Linked DNA regions of Homo sapiens: region 1 is linked to region 2. The links are contacts of gene promoters, found by promoter capture Hi-C in human tissues and cell types (Jung and others, 2019). All regions are on one chromosome and are shown on one strand. The core of a region is centred on a gene start or on the middle of the fragment in contact, and the rest is flanking DNA. Distances in the headings are between cores, read along the strand shown. Region 1 has its middle 18 kb from the start of PRSS38. Region 2 holds the start of TRIM11 (tripartite motif containing 11).

Evidence for each region. The method cuts DNA at HindIII sites, captures the fragments that hold promoters and counts their contacts. A contact is called where the count stands out against the background at its distance.
Region 1: a fragment that was not itself captured here is called in contact with the fragment with the promoter of TRIM11 in region 2 in 1 of the 25 tissues and cell types used here (spleen).

The regions. Positions count from the first base shown.
Region 1 is chr1:227,794,545-227,800,058 of GRCh38, forward strand. No RefSeq gene overlaps it. Among named protein-coding and RNA genes, the nearest start is that of PRSS38, 18 kb to the right of the region's middle. RefSeq lists a silencer at 1,390-1,590. The HindIII fragment of the contact is 3,139 bases long and covers 1-3,136 here.
Region 2 is chr1:228,402,923-228,409,197 of GRCh38, forward strand. TRIM11 (tripartite motif containing 11) reads right to left here and starts at 3,913. Exons shown (of 6, transcript NM_145214.3): 1 at 3,232-3,913. The coding sequence starts at 3,639. It overlaps TRIM17 (tripartite motif containing 17), which reads right to left. Exons shown (of 7, transcript NM_016102.4): 6 at 6,250-6,275; 7 at 5,013-5,829. The coding sequence ends at 5,279. RefSeq lists silencers at 3,625-3,864, 3,925-4,014, 4,155-4,224 and enhancers at 4,575-4,624, 4,816-5,475. The HindIII fragment of the contact is 21,686 bases long and covers 1-6,275 here.

The sequences.
Region 1 (5,514 bases), core at 317-2,816, 610 kb before region 2:
CACACCAGCTTGGGCACAGGACCAATGCCGTGGGCGGCCACGGCTCTGCAGGAGCTGGAAGTCAGGCTGGCCTCCAGTCAGGGAGCCGAGGTGGGTGGGCCCACTGGGTGCTGGGGAGGAGACAGAGATCAGTTCCACTTTGGCTGAGACTTACAGAGAGGCTGGGCCCTGGACTGGGGGATCACAGAGGGTGAGAGGGGCACTGTGGCTGGCTCAGGGCTGAGGGGTGGTGTGGCCCTGGCAGGAGGGTCCCTGGCAGGACACAGAGGGTAGCTGGGAAGGTCAGGCATTGGGGCAGGAGCTGCAGGGCCCAGCGCCAAAGGAAGCAGTGTGCTCAGACACCTGCGCTCCAGACCCCAGGGGCTTCTCTAGGCAGGGATCCTCCAGGCCACCCAGCAGCCTCACACCGCGCCTCACACTGCTGTTCTCCTATGAGGGGCAAAGAGGGTTGGAGGAAGACACCTTGGGACAGGCCCAGCTGTGGGGAGGGGCAGCAACACACAGGCGGGGCTGGGCCCCAGGGCAGGTCCCTTCTCGATAGACCAGGCTGCCTTCCAAGCCAGCGGGCAGCACAGGCACCGCAGCCTCGCCAGGGCCCCGGCAGGTGTCCTCCCACGACCTCCTGAACTCCTCTTTCCCTCAGGAGGTGCCCCCAACCCCTCCTTCCCACAGGAGCCGCCCCCCCAGCCCCGCCTTCCCTCAGGAGCTCCCCCCACCACCCCCGGCTTCCCTCAGGAGGTGCCCCCCACCCCCTCCTTCCCTCAGGAGCTCCCCACACTAGTTCCTCCTTCCCTCAGGAGCTCCCTCCACCACCCCCTCGTTCCCACAGGAGCTCCCCCAACCCCCTCCTTCCCACGGGAGCTCCCCCCACCCTCTCCTTCCCACGGGAGCTCCCCCCAACACCCTCCTTCCAGGGGAGCTCCCCCAACCCCCTCCTTCCCACGGGAGCTCCCCCAACCTCCTCCTTCCCTCGTGAGCTCCCTCCACCACCCCCTTCTTCCCACGGGAGCTCCCCCCACCCACTCCTTCCCACGGGAGCTCCCCCAACCCCCTCCTTCCCACGGGAGCTGCCCCCACCCCCTCCTTCCCATGGGAGCTCCCCCAACCTCCTTCCTTCCCTCGGGAGCTCCCTCCACCACCCCATCCTTCCCACGGGAGCTCCCCCCACTCCCTCATTCCCACGGGAGCTCCCTCCACCACCCCCTCCTTCCCACGGGAGCTCCCCCCACTCCCTCATTCCCACGGGAGCTCCCCCAACCCCCTCCTTCCCTCGGGAGCTCCCCCAACCCCCTCCTTCCTCAGGAGCTCCCCTACCCCTTCCTGGCCTCTGGTGCAGAGCAGACCTGGGGCTCTGGTCTGAGGGGGGGCCTTGGTGGCCTGGGACCTGGGGACACTCTGGGAGCTCCTTGCACACAGGAACATGAGCTCCAGCGCCTCAGCAGGGCCCCTGGTGTAGGAGCAGAGCTGCTTCCCAGGGATCGTATCTCAGCTGGACACGGGGACTCAGCTCTGCTGGGATTTGGACTGTGGGCACTGTGTGGCCTTTAGAGCTTCTAGCCCATCCTGAGGGAGGCCAGTGACTGGTAAGACATTCTGGGCTCTCGGAGCCTGCACAGCTCAGGGACAGGTATTCTGGCCTAGAGGTCAAATACCAAAGCCCCTCACATCCTATCCATACACCATCCACCCATCCAATGCAGGGGTTTATCAGTGGTCTCACATACAGGGCACAGTTGCCACGGGACTGCAGAGTTGGGTGGACAAACCCCTCAACATTCCCATTCCTCTCTCAAAGTCCTTCCAAACAGAAGCCACTGTCACCCACAGGGCCTGATCTAGAACTCCCTGCTAACCCCCAGGCCCACTCTAGAACTCCCTGCACCCCCAGGCCCTCTCTGGAACCCCCTGCCATGTACCTGCAATGTGCCCTGCATGGCGCATGGTGGGCTGGTTACTCACAGCAGCTGCCCAAACTCCCCTTGGGCCTACTGCCGGCCCCACCCACAGTCCCATCCCCTCCTGGACACAGCCCTCTCCAGCCTCATCTGTCAACGGGGAGCCCTGATGGGCTGCAGAGCAGGAGGAGGTGGGTCCCTGAGGAGTGCTTGGACGACCCCAGGGGTGGCTGGTGGTATGGGCTGGTGGTAGGCCTGACGAAGCATGTTCTATGTAAGGGGCTGGGTGGAGGTGTCAGGTGCACCTAACTCAAAAAGTCTGGAACTGTGCTCAGTGACCAGGGGGCCTAGCCCAGGCTGTCTCTGTAGCAAACCCCATCATCCCAAGAGAGATCCAGGAGCACCTCCCATAATCCTTCCTCCAAAGGGACCATGAAACCCTCCAGCATGCAGCTGCCCCCACCTCACCCTCCTGGGGTTGGGAATGTACCTTCTCACCCCACCTCGAGGCCTGGCCTGCTGCAGCCCCCATTCCCCCTTGGCTCTGTCGAGCATCCGGGCTTCAGGCTGTCCCAGCTCAGACCAGCCTCTCCTCTGCCTCAGTTTCTCTGTCTGTGATGGCCTTACAAGCTTCTTTCTGCCCAGCTGAAAATGGGGTGGCATATGGTGAGTGGCCAGCAGACACCCAGGATGGGTCAGGTGGCTCCAGACACAGCAGGGGTGGTGCCAGGACCACAGCCTCACTTCTCCAGCATCCTCCATCCACAGACAGGAAGCCCTGGGCAGCCCAAGTAGCTGCTGTGGCCTGGGGGCCCCAGGACCACTGACCCCACTCCACTCTTCCACACAGGTGGGGGCTGTGAGAGCCTCGAGGGAAAGAGGACACAGGAGGAAGGTGGGTGCGGTGATGGCTCAGGGACCACCTGCAGCTCCAGCTGGCCTGGATAATGGCAGGGTCTGTGGGGCAATGGCCCTGCTACAGGACTGGGGCCGCTTTGCTCCTGAATGCTCACCTGCCCAGGTAAGTTTACACAGAAGCCTCCTCACCCACCCACAAGAAAGAAGCAGATGTCCCTGTGAGGGTAGGGGTAGGCACAAAATCACAGATGACTGTAGGAAATTTCCAAGGAGATGAAAACATTCTGTGTCTTTGCTGGGGAGATAAACACAGGCGTGAGTAAATTTGTAGAATATCATTAAACTGTACCCAAAGAATGTATGCATTTCAAAGTATGTGATTCAAAAAGGCAGTAGAAAACAAATCAATTAAAAGGGTAAATGTGGGCCGGGTATAGTGGCCCATTCCTGTAGTCACATTGCTTTGGGAGGTGAGGTGGGAGGATGGCTTGAACCTGGGAGTGGGAGGATGCAGTGAGATGTGATCACACCACTGCACTCCAGCCCGGGTGACAGAACAAGACCCTGTCTCAAAAAAAAAAAAAAAAAAAAAAAAAAGCAGGAGGCAGAAGGGAGGCAGTAAATTCACCCACATATTTGAGTCTAATTACCTGGCCAGTGGCATAAGGGGAACAGCCAGACTACAGCACCCAACAGATCCAGAAGGTGACCGTGATCCAGATTCCTTAGCAATTTATGTGACCCAACGCAACTGGATTCTTGTAATCGCTAACAAAATCCAAAGGAATGAGGATGACATATTCACTAGATGGAACATGAAGACACAAAGAGAAGAGAAATGCCCCTTTTGGACCTCTGTGATCACTGTAGTGGGACCAGGGCCATGTGGCTGCGTTGCTTTCTCTCTGGGCCATCCCTCAGAGGGACCTGGGTCCTGGGAGCTCTGGCTTCAGTGGAGCCATGCGTGATGCTCTAGGCCTGTCCCGCTTTGAAGCTTGGGAGGCATCTAAGATGCCACAGGAGCTTCGTGCCTCTGAGTGGGGCCTTGCTGGGCAGCTGTGCACCTGGACAGCAGGGTGTCTTCCGTTTCTGGCAGTAGGCTCTGTGGATCCCATTCACTTCTAACGTGAAGGCTGTGTGACTCTCCCTGACCCCAGATTCTGAGATTAAAGCCAGTTTGTGTGATAGAGGGTCACACGAGACATAGAGATCACAAGGCATCTGTCCTAACACCGTGTGGGGTCCGTGTAGGCAGCTTTCTTGCCGTGTGCCTGCTGATCATGTGGAAGACGCCCAACACGTGGCATCTGCTGCAGGTCCAGCTGGGCGAATTTTGCTGAATCCAGGTAGACACCACACCACGGGAGATTGCACCAGGTCTTCAAAGATTACAGACAAAAGCAGGTGGCTTGCACCAAACTCTCTGGAAGACTCTGGAGATGACGTGGCCATTGTCAAGATGAGGACCTTGAAGACGGATTTGTCCCTGTGGTCTGTTAAAACAGAGACCATAGACTGACAGAACAAACTTTTTGTGGCAGAAGGTGCCAAATTGTAAACAAAACCTAAGACCCTGCCAGGCAAGGAGTTAAGTCACACAACCCTACACTTAAAGAATAAACTGTGTTCTGGCTGTGCTACAAGGGTTTTCTTTTTTTCCAGCAGCCAATCAAGCACTGGCCTTGAGCTAAGCAACATTAAGACAATTGCAGTTCATCCAGCTCACAGAGGCTGACTCTCCGACCTCCTGCTCCACCAGCCATGACTGCAGCGTTCAATGGATGGGACACTGACTTCAGGAGCTTTCTCCTGATGAGAGACCACGACTACGAACTGGTTCTGGCCAGTTTACAGAGGCTGTGCACTTCCACACCATCATGTCCCTGCTTCACCTTTTGATATCTAGAGCCTAACTGTAGCACATTTAAATGTTAAGTCTCAACCCCAAAGTGAACATGCACTGTATGTTACATGCATGTTTGTTCAGTATGCATGTGTGTGTCCCCCCCACCGCAAGAATTTGTGAATCTTCATAGTTCCTCCTGTAACCTGTCCAGTATGTATGCTTGTCCAACCATTCAGTGTCTTTGTTTTGAAATGTCTAGGTACCTGCAGGGAGCCGCAGCTGTAGTACTCAGAGTCCCCATTGCCCTTCAACCTCCCCAATCATGACATCTTATCTAACTGTAGAGTACAATGCAGACAACTTTACTGCAGACCTTATTCGGTTTTCAGCCTTTTTTAAAACCTTCGTCCTTGCGTGTGTGTGTGAACACATCTAGTTCTATGCCACTGGATCCTGTGTGGAGATTCTTGGAACCACCACTGCCACCAGGATACAGAACAGCTCTGTCACCTCCAAGGAGCTCTTACACCACTGTGTAGAGTCATGCTGCCCCAAAAATCCACTTCTCCATAAAGCAATGACAAATATTGTCAAAACCAATTTTTCAGAACTCTGGAAGTTAATCAAAAGTTTGCCAAAACCCAAGGAGTATTTAGTAAAGAAAAACATATAAAAAGGATTATATACCATAACGAAGTGGAATTTACAGCATATCAGAAAATATTGCCTAATCCAAAATCATGAAGATTTATTCATGTTTTCTTCTAAGAGTTCTACAGTTTTAGCTCTTACATTTAGATTTATGATTTTTTTCTCCCTCCTTCCTTCCTTCCTTCCTTCCTTCTTTCCTTCCTTCCCTCTTTCCTTCCTTCTTTCTTTCTTTTTGTTTGTTTTTGAGATGGAGTCTCACTCTGT
Region 2 (6,275 bases), core at 2,663-5,162:
ACAGTCAGCACGGACAGACATGCCTGGCTACCCACCCTATCTTTTCTCCAAGCCACTCGGGACCTTGTGCATTTTCAGCTTCATCAGCTATCACTGTAATAAGCTCCAGGATGGGTACACCTCCATTCTGCTTTCTTGGTCCTTAATTCTCATTCCCACGGTTCCTCATGCTGTGCATACCAGGAAGCAGTGAAAATCCTGTACACAAGCTCACTGTACTGTGTGTGCTTGGGGTGCCCTGAACCCACTTCTCGAAGGGTCTGCTCACTTCCACCCCATCTGACACCCTTATCAGCAACGGGCCCTGTGCTGGCCACACCTCTTTGCTTCTCAGCCACCCCAAGTCTTGGCTCTCATCTCTCGCTATCCACGCTCTGGAAGGATGGAGGTGCTGGGAGGGTCCAGAAGTCTGCCCCGGTAGCAGAGCCAGGACTTCAGCCCAGCTGCCTGGCTCCAGGTGCTCACTTTAGTTCACCACTTGGCCTCACGATTCGGGAAGACCGCTGGAGCACCAAGGACATGTCCAACTGCTTTACTGTCTCTGCCTAGGCTCAGCTCTCACGTGAGCTACAAGAACCCCAAATGGCGGTCCCTGTCCCCAGGCCTCTCTCCTCACTGCTGCCGACCTGTTCCAGAAAACTCAGGCCTGGCCCCTGTGACCCCAACCCCACCTCAAACACTTGGCCCAGTGCCTCTCACTTCTCCCTCAATGCCTCAGTCCCTACGGGACATTTTCAGTTTTCTTTTTTTGAGACGGAGTCTCGCTTTGTCCCCCAAGCTGGAGTGCAGTGGCACGATCTCGGCTCACTGCAACCTCTGCCTCCTGTGTTCAAGTGATTCTTCTGCCTCAGCCCCCTGAGTAGCTGGGATTACAGGTGCCCATCACCACACCCAGCTAATTTTTGTATTTTTTGTACAGATGGGATTTCACCATGTTGGCCAGGGTGGTCTCAAACTCCTGACCTCAGGTGATCCGCCCACCTCGGCCTCCCAAATTGCTGGGATTACAGGCGTGAGCCACCACACCTGGCCAACGTTTTCAGTTTTCAACACTAAGGTTACAAACAGCATTTGATCAGATGGAATGGGCTGTAAAGCAGCACAACATACCCAGCATGGCAAAGATCTTGCATTTCAGGTACCTGCATCTTTGTGTCTCTGGCCAGATCAGAACAGAAACCTCTTACCCTGCGTGTAGTCAGAACTGGGATGCTGGGGCTTGGTGCAGGCCTGGGATCTTCCCTGGCCTCCTCCTTCCTGTGGCAAACCCCCTCCCCACACAAGTGCCATCTGACACACAACCCAGAGAGATCTGGGGGCCATCTTCTCTCTCCCATGGTGCTGCTTCCTGGAACTGGAGCTTACTGGGACTTCCCTGTTTACCACCTCGGGGCAACCCAGCCTGGGGCTTGTTCAGCTGTCATGACCCCAGGTCAGGGCCAGGCAAGGAGTGAACCTGTCATGGAGCTAATGGGCCCCAGCTCTGGCAAGTGGACACACAGCCCCATAGGTGGGACTGAGCTTTCTAGGCCCATGGGGGCAGGTAAAAGCAGTTTGCTGTGGTTAACATAACCTAGGCTCTAAGGCAGTGAAGAACAGGATGTCATCCCCAAATATACCGCTGTGGTACAAGAATTATTCTGAGTAAAAGCAGATGCAGGAAGAGCTCTCTGTACTCCTATCTGCCTAAAAGTAGGGTATTCATTCCCCATGAGAAAGGCACCCTCTCTCTACCAGGAAGAGGAGGGCACTCTAATCCTGGGAGATGATTCTGCCTAAACAGACCTTACTACAATGACCATTATCTTGTGTTAATTCTTCCCATCTATTTCCTAGTCACTTTCCCACAATTTATCAGTCCTAGACGCCCAATCCCATTTCTGTGTCCAGTCACTTCTCCACAATTCACAAACCTTTGCTGAAATACGCTTTTCTATGAAGTTCTTGTGCATGTGAAACTTAAAATATTAATCAAATTGTATGATTTTTTTTCCTGTTAATTTGTCTTGTGCCAGTTTAATTTGCAGCCCTGAGCCACTGAACCTAACAGGGTAGAGGGAAATTTTTTTCTTCACCTGCAAAAGAAAGGGTTAAGTGCTATCCCATGAAACTATATCGAGTCAACTCTATAGAGCTATTGGGCACTCTCTGCACCCATTGGGGTAATTGGTGTCACAAGGGTAATTCTGCTGGGCTAACATGTTTCAGGTGTAGACATTCCTGCATGGGCAAAGAAAAGAAAACCCAAATGAATCTGTGTCTGAACAAGCCCACGGATATGGCTCTAAACCACCTTTCTGCTAAAATCCAAAGCAGAAGGGGACAGATTCAGATTTATTCTAGTATCCCAGAAGTTTGCTCTGTGATAGGGACAGATCAAGCTCAGTACTGATTCTAACACTGCCTTAACTGCTCATCTGGCACACACAAGTGACCATGATGCAACACACAAAGTGCAATCAAGAAAGCTCCAAAGATGCTGCCATCTGCCCCACACGTAGGCTCCCAGGAGCACACCTGCAGCAGGTCAGCGAGGAAAGAGGACAGCGGGAGGGAGCGCAGGCCAGGGAACGTGTGCCCCAGGCCCTTCAGCTCGGGTTTTATTTGGGTTTTAAGCAGCAAGACAAGGGGAGAAAAGGCAGGCTGAGCCCTGGCATCTCAGATGGCAGAGATGGCTCCCAGTACCCCACCCAGAAATGCAGGGCAGCCCTGGAGGGGAGGTTAGAGAGGAAACGACTGTGTCCCCCTCATCCTGCCCAGTCTGGGGCTTTCCCAGGACTTAAGTACTGACCTGCTAACACAGTCCCTGCAGGGAGTCCATCTAGGATCGGCCACCTCTGAGGTTCTCCCACTTTCCTCTGATTCCAGCTCCTTGCTGGCCAGGGTATGGCCACATTTTCCTTGCCCCCACTCCACCACCTTCCACCTTCCACCTTCCTCTCTTAGCCTCTATCTATGAGAGGTACGCCCCTCACCCCCGAGAGCAGGGTCTCATTGGCGGCCATGGTCCCAGCCTCAAGGGGCCTGGTTGAAACAGGCTGTGTCATGAGCCCCCACAGCCACCCTGCGCGACACCCCCCTCACAGGCCCACAGCAGGCTGCATCCTGAGCTCCCCGCCCTAGACAGAGACAGATTACTCCCGGAGCAGTCCCCCAAACCTCCCACCCGCCCAGGCCTCCCCAGTCCCCGGCTCCCCGACGCCCCTGCACGCCACCCCCGCCCAGGAGCACCTTGAGGTCTTCGGCCGCGTCCTGCAGCGGCCGCACGCGGTGCGCCCAGTGCTCCCCAGAGCGCTCGCAGGCCGCACACAGGAGGCGCAGCTCGTCGCCACAGAAGGCGGCCAGTGGCTCGCGGTGCGCGGGGCACACGCCCTGCGGGACCGGCGACGGCGGGTGCAGGCGCCGCGCCATCTCGGCCATCTTAGCAAGCGGGCGGTTGGGCCGCAGGTTCCTCTGCGGGGACAGCTCGCGGCACTCGGGGCACGCGTACGGGCCCTCGGGCTGGCCCCAGCAGCGCCGGATGCACTCGCGGCAGAAGTTGTGGCCGCAGTCGGTCATCACCGGATCCGTGAAGTAGTCGAGGCAGATGGCGCAGGTGGCCTCCTCCTGGAGGTTGGTGGACAGGTCGGGGGCGGCCATGGCGCGGACAGAGGGGAGGAAGGCGGTACTGTCCGCGGGGCGGCGGCGGGCGGCCTCGGCAGCTCGCGGGGACGCGGGGTATCCGGGTGCGGCGGCGCAGGCTCGGGCACTCCGGGGCGCGAGGCTCGGGACTCCCGGGTGCTCGGGCTCCGGGGCGCGGGGACTCCAGGGCGCAGGACTCTGGGTTTCGGTAGCGCTGGGCGCGTAGGCTCCGAGCGCTCGGGGGACGCGGGACGTAGGGATCCCGGATGCCGGCAGGAAGAGGAGCCGAGGCGGAAGCAGGAAGCGACTGGGTGGGTTTTGTGTGTTTTTTTTTTTTTTTTTTTTTTTTTTTTTTTTTTTTTGGAACAACCCGCTTTTGCCTCCGATTGGCCGCTGCCAGTCACGCGGCCCGCGGGCGGGACGGAATTGGAGAGCTTTCACTTGCTGACCTGGCGTCACCACCGCTCCGGTTCTTGTGGCCAGGTCTTTTACCCCTGCCCTGGGGAGGACTCAGGCGCAGGGGAGGGATGGGGACAGGGGGCGGGGCGCAGGGGAGGGATGGGGACAGGGGGCGGGGCGCAGGGGAGGGATGGAGCAGGGGGCAGGGCAAGGAGGGATGGGGACTCAGGGCGGGGCACACGGAAGCAACTGCAAGGACTAAGGGAGTCCGCAGCCTGGGGCATTGGAGCCCTTCGCCATACCCCTAGTGCGTCCTCACCCCCTCAGCCCGTGCTTCCCAGGGCGGGTATCCTCGGAAGGCCCGGCCCTCACAGCCTTGGCAGGCCAAGGTCAGAATGATTGGAGTTGGGGGATGGGACGGGGGCATCCCTCCAGGACCAGCTCTCCAGGAGGCCCACATTCTTTCTGCGGGAACCACTCCAAAGGGGCATGCTGTTCCAGGCAGCCCCTCGCGCAGACACTCCGGCTTTGTCGAGGTAGGAGTACGCTTACTCTGGAATTCTGCCTTGCTAGTGACTGACACAGGCTGTTAAAGTGCTTGACCCTGCAGGGGTGGGTGGGGGGTTCCTTGGAAAAGGTAAGGGCGCTGTGGAAAAGAGGCCCCTACATAAATCCTAATCTCTTTGGGATTTTGCCCCTGCTCGTGCAACTTTGGGGATCGAACGGGATGGGGGTGGGCAGCTCTGAGGCTTTTTACGGGTTCAGCCTTTCCCATTTTCCCCCATCGAAGGACCCAATAGGATGCATAGGACATTTCTATGGGCAGCCTGGGACCATCCCTGACACAGCAACCACCCCCGCTCCTCCCCACCATAGGATATTTCTACTTCTTTGACAGAGTAACCTAAACCCCTGGGGGGGCTGGGAGCCACAGATTCCTGTCATTCCAAAGTGGGGGTGGGGGCATGGCTAAAAAAAACGTGACCACGCTGTTCCTGGTGTGTAGGTATGGATTTAGAAATCGGTCCACTCAGAACGCAGGGGCTTTCAAAAGTTTCCTCTAGGAAGCATCTGTCAGTATACCCTCTTAATGTTTGACAGTTCTAATCACAATTATATTTAGAATTTGAGAAACCCCCCTGTGTGTCTAATGGCTGCCAGCGTGATGCCAGAGAACCCTGGCAGGTGGCCTGCAGTAAGCAGAAGGCCCACACCTTCTGCAGAGCCAGGAGCAGTGCCCGAGTCCCCCGGTCTGTGTCTATCCTTTCACCCACATGGTCACTGTGGAGATGACCATCTGACCAGACTTCGGAGCCCCCAGGCAGAAGAAAGGCTGCAGGGGGCCTGGGAAGGTGGCCTGGGAGTAGGTGTGCAGGTGGGACCCATCGCTTACACTGTAGAAGGACACTTCCCCGGCTTCGAAGTCCAGGAAGATGCCCATGTGGCTGGGAGGCTCCATCAGCATGACCGGGGTTAGGGCAGAGAAGGTGGATAAGTACTTGGTCCCCTTGGACAGCTGCACCACCCAGAAGCCGTTTTCGGGGCACTTGGGGACCCTGTCTTTCCGGCTCACGTTGTCCCTGCACACACCCAGGGCCCACAACGCGTCCCCGGTGATGTTCATGCCCACCTCCCAGTAGTGCCTCCCAGAGGAGAAGGCCGTCTGGCCCACAGCACAGGGGTAAGCCACAAATCGGTCCTTGCTGCAGAACCCACTGCCCTCCGGCGAAGAGCCGAGGTAGCGCCTCTGGCGGCTCTCATACAGGAGGAGGTAGGGGTACGCGGAGGTGGCATCAGGCACCACATCCTCTGTAGATGGGCGTGGTGGTGGAGAGATGGGGAGAGGTGTGGGGCATTCAGGGTCAAAGGTGGGAGTCCCCGGGCCCTAGTGGTGGATGTGGCCAATGGTCCCCTAACTCCGCAGAGGCCTCCCCTGCTGTGAATCTGGGGTTACTTGATGCTTCCACACACCAATTGTGTGTGGGCCTTGGTGGCAATAAGGTACAGGGGGCTGGGCAGAGAGACCACTGGGAACTCAACAAGATTCATCCCATGAATTAGAACCACCAGTAACGCCGCCCTACGAAGGCACAGTGAATAGCCAGTGACCGTCACCAGGCAGTGCACTTGTAGAACCCCCCCCATTGGTGGCTTCCGAGGCTAGGGGGTACAGTGGGGCATCGCCAAGAGATCCTGGGTCAGAGGTCCTGGCCCTGGGTGCCCACTTACCTAGAAAGCCTCTTAGCACTTCAATC